Linked DNA regions of Homo sapiens: all the other regions are linked to region 2. Evidence: promoter capture Hi-C in 16 types of primary human blood cells and fetal thymus (Javierre and others, 2016). All regions are on one chromosome and are shown on one strand. Each heading gives the region's core, a stretch centred on a gene start or on the middle of the fragment in contact. The rest is flanking DNA. Distances are from core to core; before and after follow the strand shown.

Region 1 (3,467 bases), core at 321-2,820, 1.2 Mb after region 2:
CAGAATCTCACTCCGTTGCCCAGGCTGGAGTGCAGTGGCACAATCATGGCTCACTGCAGACCTAAACTCCTGGGCTCAAGTGATCCTCCTACTTTGGCCTCCCAAAGTGCTTGGATTACAGGCATGAGCCACCACGCCTGGCCCTTTTTCAGAGTTCTTTATGCACAATCTCATTTGTTGCTGCCCCCATTTTTATAGAAGAATTCACTGAGGCTCAGACAGGAGCACTCGCTTGCCCAAGGAGTCAGAGTCCTCTGACTCTGCAAACCAAGCTCTTTAAAGCCACACTGCAACCCTGTCGTTAATGGTACATTTGGACAACTTTTTAAACTGTGCACTTTACACAGAGTTTCACAACCTCGGCACTGGTGACACTTTGGGGCTGGATCATTCTTTACGGGGGGAGGAGGGCCATCCCATGCACTGGAAGATGGTCAGCAGCATCCCTGGCCTCTGCCCGATAGATGCCTGTAGCACATTCCCCCACCCCGCCAGGTCATAGCAGTGAAAAATGTCTCCACACACTGCCCAGTGTCCCCTGCAGGGCAAAATCACCCCTGGTTCAGTGTATTCTGCACACAGATGTGCTTCAGGTTGGCAGCCCTGCCTGCTCCGTTGACCCATTTTTTTCAGCATGTAGCACTGTGCTGCAGACACTATAATAGAAATCCCTTCCTTTCTTTTTCTCCCCCCACCCCTGCCCCCCAGACAGGGTCTGGCTCTGTTACCCAGGCTGGAGTGCAGTGGCAGGATCTTGGTCCACTGCAGCCTCCGCCTCCACTTCCTGGGCTCAAGCGATTCTCCCACCCCAGCCTCCCAAGTAGCTGGAACGACAGGCGTGCAGCACCACACCTGGCTAATTTTTTGGTTTTTTGGTAGAGACAGGGCTTCTCCGTGTTGCCCAGGCTGGCCTCAAACTCCTGAGCTCAAGCAATCTGCCCATCTTGGCCTCCCAAAGTGCTGGGATTACAGGCGTGAGCCACCACACCAGGCCTAGAATCCCTTTCAGTAAGACATGCAGTTGCCACCTCTCCTGCACTCCTGGGCGAGGGGTGTGACGCTTAACATTAGAGGGCGCTGCCCCACCTTGCACAGCTGTGTACCTCAATCAGGTGCACCTACCCAGCCCTCCTGTCGGCCACTGCTCACCGTGTGCACACTCTGGGCCAGGTACTGCGCTGGGGCTACAGTGCAGCACGGCTCCTGCCTTACGGACCCCACACCCTAGTTGGGGAAATGAGGATAAACAAGAAAACAAATGCATCTATAGGATAATTTCAGAGAGTGCAGAGTGCTGTAGAGGAAATAAACAGCCCGGTGACTATAGAGGGATGGGTGACCAGGGACAACTTCTCATCTGACCTGAGGTGCCACGGTGAGGAGGAGGCAGGCGTCCCAGGCAGAAGGAAGAGCAGGTGCCAATGCTCGGTGGGGTAGAGAGCTTGGCTCCTAGGGAGCGTGAGACCTAGAGAAGTTGAAACAGAGTGAGCTCAGCAGTGCGTCCCTGAAGGGAGACGGCCTGATGGCTCTTGGACTCAGAAGGGCCCTCTGGCCATTTGGGGAAGTCTGGGCTCTGGGAAGGCTGCGGAGGCAGAAGTCCAGTTGGAAGTTGGCTGTGAGAAGGAAACAGGTGAAGAAGCAAGATGCATTTCTGTCTTTTTTGGGATTTTATATCCTGTGTATATGTGTATGTTGTGTATTCGTGTATGTGTGTATATGTGCTTTTACTGTATTTTCCTGCATCGTGTATATGTACATATGTACCTGTATATTCATGCATTGTGTATATGTGAATGTTGTATATCTATGCATGTGCGTATGTGTGCCATATATTAATGCATATGTGTATTTTTATATGTCATGTATTCACTCGTGTGTATATGTGTGTTGTATATTCATGTATGTATATGTAGTGTATTTGTGCTTGTGTATATGTATTCATGCATGTGTGTATATGTATGTGTTGTATATTTATGCAGGTGCGTAGATGTGTTTGTGTGCTGGTTCCAAAATATGAGGACAAATTGCCAAATCAAAGTGAATAAATATTTAATGAAATGGTGTTGCATGATTCAGCGAGTCAGCTCTGGAACATTTGGACTCTTAGAGAGCTGTTTGTCGATTACCTTTAATGTAGTGTGTGGGTGGAAATGGTGTGGGATGAACATGTACCGAAAGTTGCTGATGTCCTTAAAGAAGCCCTGTTGGTATTTCCAGCCAGATGGCCCGTCGTGGGGGAGAGAAAGTCCTCCGAAAGCAGCGGGTGCTTTCTGTCCTGCTGGCTGCCTCTTGGGAGGCCCCTAGGACAGATCAGGTCCTGTTTCACCCTTCGCATGCCTGTCAGTTCATCCACGTGCATAGCAGTGGGTGGGGGTGCACTGTCGTTTCATTGCCAACAACCACAGGGGACAAAGTCCTTTGTGGTCCCACAGCTAGGAGGTGGCAGATCCAGGATTCAAACCCAGACAGTCTGACTGCAGAGACGCTTTGGGCACTCTGCCACATTACCACCTGTGTTACTGGGAAAAGGGAGAACTGATGCTGGGAGGAACAGCGTGTTCCTACGCCGGCCCGGCATGGCGGGGACATGTCTGCAGCAGGGAGAGGTGGCCGAGGTTCCCAGTGGTTTCTGGTTGCAGGAGCCCTCTGTCTCCCCCATTGTCCGTGGCTTGCTTAGTATCCCCAGTGATGCCGTGTGTGCCCCTGTGCCAGGTTTTTCACCAGCTAATCTCAGTCCCTGGTCGCCACGAGACACAGCTTTCACAGACCACAAATGCAATTATTACAAGGCAATTTCAGTTAGATTTGGGGCTGGGAGAGAAAACAGAAGGGTCTCCTCCTCCCATCAGGCTCCGAATCGTTCCCCAGGAGCACTTAACTCAGACAAATGGGGAAGCAGCCGCGTGGAGCCTCCACCGTAGAGCTGCCTGCAGGGGAAGTGGCCGACCTGCTGGGCCACGAAGCAGGGTGCAGGAAGGATATGGGGAGCTAGTGATCCTCTCCAAGGGGGCAGGGGGACTCCATTAAACCAGATGTTAACAGCAAGAAGTTGGCTATAACAGGGGACGGGCCCATTGGTGGATAATGAAAATATAACCCTTAGTAGGCACTTGCTATGTGCCAGTTCCAAGCAATGTACAGTCGTGTGTCACGTAACAATGGGGATACATGCTGAGAAACGTGTCGTTAGGTGATTCTGTCATTGTGCGAACATCATGGAGTGCATTACACGCCTGGATGGCATAGCCTACTACACACCTAGGCTCTGTGGCGTGACCTATTACTCCTAGGCTACAAACCCCCCTACAGCATGTGACCATACTGAATCCTGTAGGCGGTGGTAACACAATGGGAAGTATTTGTGTATCTAAACATACGTGAACATGTTAATAGAGTACAGTAAAAATATGGTGGGCATGGTGGCTCATGCGTGTATTCCCAGCACCTTGGGAGGCCAAGGCGGGAGG
Region 2 (3,251 bases), core at 577-3,076:
GTAAATTCCTTCCACTGATCCTGAATTTCACGGACTAGCAACTGTTTCCAGATTATCTAGACTACCACCTCTGCATCAATAGTTGGCCCCTGAGGGAGTCTCAGGGCCCTCTGAAAATCTGATGAAAGCCAGGGACCTTCTTTCCAGGGAAGTGCAAAGTTCACCAGCCTATTTCTAAATGCCAAAAGAACACTACTCTATACTTTGTAGCAAATGAAAGGAGAAAGGTGATAACAATCTCAAACTATGTGACTAAAAATCAAACTTTCCATTTGCTCATTTTGTTAGGAAAAACAGGCCTTTACAGATTCCAAACCAAAGACGTTGGGGCAGTGAATTAGCTTGAAAACAGCTCTGGTCAAATGCATGGATTCTCCCACCAAGAACTCTCTTCTGAAACTCCATATGGTGGATAGTTCTTGCCTTTCAGTATTCAGCTCAAGTGTCACCCTCTTGGAAAAGATTACTTTCCTGACCACCTGATTACTTTTCCTCTTGGAAAAGATTACTTTCCTGACCATGGAAAGCAGTCCTCAAGCCCTCTTTATCACATCTTGCTGTTTTATTTTCAAAATAGTATTTATCAGTATTCCAAAATACCTCACCTATTTTCTTAATTAATTATTTTGTCTCCTCTATTCGAGTATAAGCTCCATAGGGGTAAGGACCATGTCCGTCTTGTTCCCCACTGAATTCTCAGTACCTGGTATGCAGTGGGCACTTGATAAATATTTGTTAAATGATTAAAACTGAAAGATAGGATAGTGATTTTGCTATCAATTATCAAGCCTTTAACTATTAGTTAGAATTCTCCCTCTTTCCATAATCTGAGGGTCCATTCAATCAGCAAATATTTATCGAGCACCTACTGTGCGCCAGGCACTGTTGCAAGCGCAAGGGATACAGCAATGAATAAGTCAGACAAGTATCTTCGCGCTGAAGACCTTGTATTTTAGTGGACTGCTAGGAATAAGCAGATGTCTTGCTCACTACAATGCCTGGGAGATCCAGAACACCTTCTACAATCCTTCCTTGAGGGAAAGAGCTATGGGAGATCCCCAAACCAAAGGAAAACATTCTCCAACGGGCACTTCCAAAACAAGAATCAGGGGTTTCCCTAAACCAGTTGGACGGCTCTTCCTACATGCTCTGTTCACCTAGGGGAACCCCAATCAGCAGAGCTCAGGTAACGAAAAAACTTGGGGCAAGGGCTACTGTTTCTAGGACTTGGAGGTGGTGAGGGGAGGAACCAGGAAACAGGGCGACAAGGAATCGTGGCAAAAGCCCTGAGCTGGAACCCTGAGGAACAAGCTCTGGTTGTCACCAACTTGCTAGGTGACCTTGGGCCAGTCCCGAGCTGCCCGGGCAACACTTCCTCCGGGGGTATAATGAGGAGGAGGCCGGAAGGGTGGAATTCGGGATCGGGGGGAAGCGGAGGCCAGGAGGCCGGGCCAAGGCCGAGTAGGATAGGGCAACGGCCGACGTGCTGAGGCCAGCGCGGGGCAGGGCGGGAGCGGCTCACCCACCGAGCGCCACCTGGCAGGCCCTGCGCAGCTGGGAGTGCTGGGGCCGCTTCACCTCCTTGTCGGCTAGGATCTTCTCCAGGGCCCGGGACACGAACATGCTCTTGGTCTGGCTCTCCTGCATGGCCCCGGCCCGGCGGGGGCTGACGGCCCCGCGGGCGGGCGGCGTGAGCGAGATGGCGAGCTAGGCTGCGGGCCCGGCGTCCCGGCCGGCACCGGCCGCGTCCGTCCGCGCCGCCCCGTCAGGAAGCGACACCTCGGCCCCACGGCGCCGCCATGTTGGAGCGCGTCACGTGACCACGTGACTGGCGAGGCCGCTACGGCCGCCTAGCGTCCGTCGGCCCCGTGACCCCCAGCGGGGCGGAGCCTAAGGCTGGGGGCGGAGCGGAGTCAGGTGGGCGAGAGACAGAAGGCGAGGGTGGAGGGTGGAAGAAGAGAAGGTGGGGAGGGGAGTGGGCATGGGCGAAGGGTATAGGGGACGCGGGGGCTAAAGAAAGGCGAAAGCGGGGAGAGGTGGTGATGGAGATGAGAGGAGAGAAGCGCAAGGTAACGGGAGGTGAAGGGGAGCACGAGAATGGAGATGACGTGGGTAAGAGAGGAGATGAGGAAAGGAAGGGGAACGAGAGGATTGGCAAAAAAGAACGGTGACAAGGAGAGATGATAAAGGGGCAGGAGGAGAAGGCGAGTAGGAAAGAAAAGAGGTGAGGGAGCGAGGACTGGAAGCTGGTGAATGAATGAGAAGTGATCGGGAGTAAGGGGCGTCAGGAGGAAGGAGGAAGGGCGATGAGAAGGCGGCGGCGGAGGGGAAGGGGGGAGGCCCGGCGCGGCGGCTCACGCCTCTAATCCCAGCGCTTCCGGAGGCCAAGGCGGGAGCATCGCTTGAGCCCAGGAGTTCGAGACCAGCCTGGGCAACATAGGGAGACCCTTTCTCTACAAAATAAAAAGTAAAACAGCCGGGCCTGGTGGCGCTGCTTGTGGTCCCAGCTACTGGGGAGGCTGAGGTGGGAGGATCGCTTGAGCCTCGGAGGTTGAGGCCGCAGTGAGCTGTGATGGCACCACTGCACTCCAGCCTGGGCCACAGAAGGAGACCCTGTCTCAAAAAACAAACAAACAAAAAGGAGGTGAGTTAGTTATGGAGGAGATGAGGTGGTGTGGGAAGAGGTGAGAGGGAGGCACAGAGGTAAAAGAAAAAGGAGAAAGACAGGAGGGAGAGGGGAAGTGAAAAGGAAAGAGAGGTAGAAATGAGAGGAGGGGAAAGAGTAGGAGAAAGGGTGAAGGGAGAGGAGGTAGGAAGGGGAGCTGTCAGGAAGAACAGAAAAGAAAGAAAAAGATGAGAGTAACAAGTTAGGAAAACAGGAAAGAGATGGAAAAAGGAATGGTGTAGGAAGGAGGTGAAGGGGAAGGAGGTGAGGAAGAGTGGAAAGAACATGCTGGGAGAATAGGAAATGGAAGGGGTGGAGGGAGAGGGGAGGTGAAAGGAAGACAGAGAGGGAGAGAGAGAAGGTGTGTTTATGTCTATTCTCCACAAGCAGGGTTTCACCACAGCCACTGGCAAGATACACACATCCATATGACCCTCCTGTCACAGCAGCAGTGACCTTGCAGTTCAGTGAACTTCTGTTTATTGAGTGTCGCAGCTGTGCATAGTATACCAGGAAGCACTGACCTCTCTCTGTAGTTTATCCTGTTATAAACCTGTGAACCCTCACAGTGCAGTGAACTGGACCT
Region 3 (3,320 bases), core at 408-2,907, 1.3 Mb after region 2:
TTCACCCTCATACTTTACCAAAGGGGTAGGTTAAGTCCCTCACCGGTAGCTCCCAGACTACACAAGAACCCAGGCCACTTACCCGTCCTTTCATCAAATGGCTGCTTTGCAATCAGGAGGAGCTGAGGGCCCCTGAATGAAGGCTGCTGATAAAACCAAGACTTGGAAGGCTTTCTTTCCAAGCTTGGGAAGTTTCCTGACCAGTGGCTGCAGAACTCCAACGTTAAATACACAGACGTGGTTTTTATTCTCCTGAGTTTTCACTCTCATGAAGAGTGAACCTGGTGGGACTTGAAGCCAAAAAGTCACCTAACTCTTCCAAACGCTGGCTCTTGCAGAAGTTGGAGTAAACAGGTCACCAGCCCCTAGCACCTTCCACCCGCCACCTGCCTGAAATATGTCCCCTGGTTGGTAGAAGGGCAGGGCGAGAGTCCCTGTACTTACCTTGTTGACAGACTACCTTTTTTGCAACCAGCTGATGAATGCAGTGAACACACTGGACAGGGATGTCCTCAACCAGCTACACGTACAGCTCATGGAGCTGAGGAGCTGCAAGGGTTACAAGCAGTGTAACCCCCGGACTCGAAACATGGACCTGGGTGAGTAGGCACCCCAACGTGGGGCCCTTGGACAGCAGGGTAACCAAAGGAAGGGACTCAGGAGGTGGTGTCTACCCCAAGAATGAGCCTGAAATCACCAGGCTTTGGGAGGTGATACAGTTCCAGACGAGTCATGGGAGCCCCTGTCCATAGCAGGCAGATGACCTTTAACAAGCTGTGATTCCTGAGAGAGGAACACCTGCACCAACTGCCCAGGAAACACACGGAATTCCGTCTCATTTCATTGTCCTCCCTTTTGTCCACTCATGCATTCAACAAACACTTCCTGAGAACTTACACCTGAAACCATGTTGACTAAAGATGACCCCATCCTCGCTGACTTGTGTGGAGCCAGTGTTGTCCTAAGAAGAGCAGTCCACAGCAGGAGGCCTCTTGCTTGTATGGAAAGGGTAAAACTGGATGGTAGAATCCAGTGTGACTGGGGAAGGGCACTGCTAAATAAAACCAGGGTCAGACCTCTGAACTGAGTCCTGAAAAGTAGGATGCAATCGACCACTGAGAAAACGTGGAGGGCTGGCGCTCCAGGAAGCTTAAAGTGTGAGGAGCAGAAAGCAGCTCAGGGGGTGCAGCCAACACAACTGAGGCCAGTGGAGAGTGGCGGGAGGGCATCGGGCCACCCTGTGTGGGGCTTCCTAGGCCACGGTAGAGTTTAGATTTCATTTGTGGTGTATCAGGAAGCCAATGGAGGGTTTTAACCTGGGCACCGACATTTGCTAGGTGGAGAATGGGACTTTATGGGAGAAAACAGCGAAGATGGCCCAGTTATCCAGGGAGAAATGGTGGTGGCTTGGACTAGAGGTGGGAGCAGTAAAGATGATGGATTTCAGATTCAGGTGGTGAAGCCCCCAGACAACATGGTGATGGGAGGTGCGGGATTAGGAGTCCCAGGTAAATCCTGAGTTTTGTTTGGGACAGGACAAAATCTGCAGTTTTAAGTTTAGAATGCCAACCAGATAGATATTTTAAGATGAAAAAAGCTAAACAGGCATGGTTGCTCATGCCTATGATTCCAGGGCTTTGGAAGGCTGAGGTGGGAGGAGACTTGAGCCCAGGAGTTCAAGGTTACAGTGAGCTATGATAGCACCACTGCACTCCAGCCTGGGAGACAGAGCTGTCGCCCCATCTCTAAAAATAAAAAAAATATATTAAAAAAAGAAAACAAAGCTAAAAGAAAAATGAAGTTCACTTACTAGTGAGAGAGAGTGGCCTAAAAAAAACCTTTGGTATTTAAGGTCCCTTGGGGAAGGGACTGTGTCTAGGAGGATGCCTAGAGTTCATGTCAGGAAAATGGCTACACAGCTTAGGAGGAATTCAGACGCTACCGTCGGCTCTAGTTATGAAGAGGGAAGAGCTAATGTGTTTACACAAGATGTTGCACTAATACTTCTGGTCAGGAGCCTGATATGATCAGAATTTTCACTAGTAGCTTCCTAATCTCTGCCACTCAAGTGCTGCTACTCTTGTGATCAAAGTGCAATGACATATTAGTCACTGTGTGCCAGGCTCTGTGCTGAGCATTTTACATGTGTTAGCTGATAAGCTTTGAGGTGAATCTTATCCTCATTTTATGGAGGAGTAAGGTGAACAAGGTGGGCTGACCCCGGAGCCCACGCACTTGATCCTGCCACATCCTCGGGAAAACTTCCCCAGAGCCCAAAGGGGAACTCCCTCCTGCACTTGGTCAGGGCTCTTGGCTTTCTGTCCTCTGGAGCACAGATGTTCATGCCTGCATCTACCTCCCTCACCATAACTAAGGTCAGCGCTGAATGAAGCCATCAGGGTCCTGAAACTGATCATGGTGACACTGGATTTTAGGCAATCTACAAGGCTATCTAGGAGACTTAGGGCAGGTTCCCCTCATAATTCAGTCTACCCCTCATAATTCAGTCTACTCTGAGTAGGGAACACTATCAGCATCATGGGATTGTGACAAAAAAGCATAAGATGGTTTTCTGGTGTGTTGGGGTTGTTTTGCCTAAACTATCTGCTCCTGTTTTGTTTTTCATTTCTCCTTCATTTAGGACTTAAAGATGGAGGAAGCTATGAGCAATACAGGTATTTCGTTTTATTATTAAAGCCTAAACAAAGTTCTCCTATCTTGGCCCATCCTTCAGTCTCATCTCTGTGAGTCTGCACCTGTTATCTTGAGAAACTGCCCTTCCCTCTGGTCTGCCCGAGACCAGGATCACCCACCAAAGATAGGTGTCACCTAGGAGACCTTCTTTGTATAGTTCTTTGGGGACTTTTTCTTTCTTGGTGATGGTTAACATTCATTCTCCTTTGACACTTGAAAACTTAGGCAGTTTCAGCGTCGAAAGTGGCCAGAAATGAAGAGACCTTCTTCCAAATCACTGTGAGTTGAGGAACCAGCTTACAAATAGAAATCTGGTTCTGACCGCTTCATTTTGCCAATGCTATTCTATTTGCATGCCATTTCTTACATACCACCCTTTGTTTGTTCTCATGATGAGGGTGGGGGGGAAGTACTAATGCACATCTTTCCCTAAGAAAACACTTGAATCCATTTCATGTTTTAGATTAATGCCTTGTCCAGTACACTGCTGTTCTCGCTATAATCTGTGCTTGGTAAACTTGAGCTATTACTTAGAGGTTGAGAAGCATTTAAATATTACAAATTGCTAGGCATCTTGAAGGCTGTGGCTACAAAAGTGCTAACTGATATACAACATCAGTAGTAGG

Evidence for each region. The method cuts DNA at HindIII sites, captures the fragments that hold promoters and counts their contacts. A CHiCAGO score of 5 or more calls a contact.
Region 1: a contact is called between a fragment that was not itself captured here and the fragment with the promoter of ARFGEF2 in region 2, in 1 of 17 cell types (naive B cells). The highest score is 7.3, in naive B cells.
Region 3: a fragment that was not itself captured here is called in contact with the fragment with the promoter of ARFGEF2 in region 2 in 3 of 17 cell types (naive B cells, total B cells and naive CD8 T cells); the score reaches 7.5 in naive B cells.

Annotation. Positions count from the first base shown.
Region 1 is chr20:47,710,279-47,713,745 of GRCh38, reverse strand. The region is part of intron 3 of SULF2 (sulfatase 2); the gene reads left to right. Among named protein-coding and RNA genes, the nearest start is that of SULF2, 73 kb to the left of the region's middle. RefSeq lists enhancers at 1,262-1,331, 2,199-2,368, 2,149-2,649, 2,650-3,150. The HindIII fragment of the contact is 5,484 bases long and covers 1-3,467 here.
Region 2 is chr20:48,920,286-48,923,536 of GRCh38, reverse strand. It overlaps ARFGEF2 (ARF guanine nucleotide exchange factor 2), which reads right to left and starts at 1,826. Exons shown (of 39, transcript NM_006420.3): 1 at 1,527-1,826. The coding sequence starts at 1,647. RefSeq lists an enhancer at 1,116-1,195 and silencers at 1,566-1,615, 1,656-1,755, 1,986-2,065. The HindIII fragment of the contact is 17,186 bases long and covers 1-3,251 here.
Region 3 is chr20:47,659,052-47,662,371 of GRCh38, reverse strand. It overlaps SULF2 (sulfatase 2), which reads left to right. Exons shown (of 21, transcript NM_001387048.1): 18 at 476-599; 19 at 2,642-2,675; 20 at 2,920-2,973. Among named protein-coding and RNA genes, the nearest start is that of SULF2, 120 kb to the left of the region's middle. The HindIII fragment of the contact is 1,011 bases long and covers 1,152-2,162 here.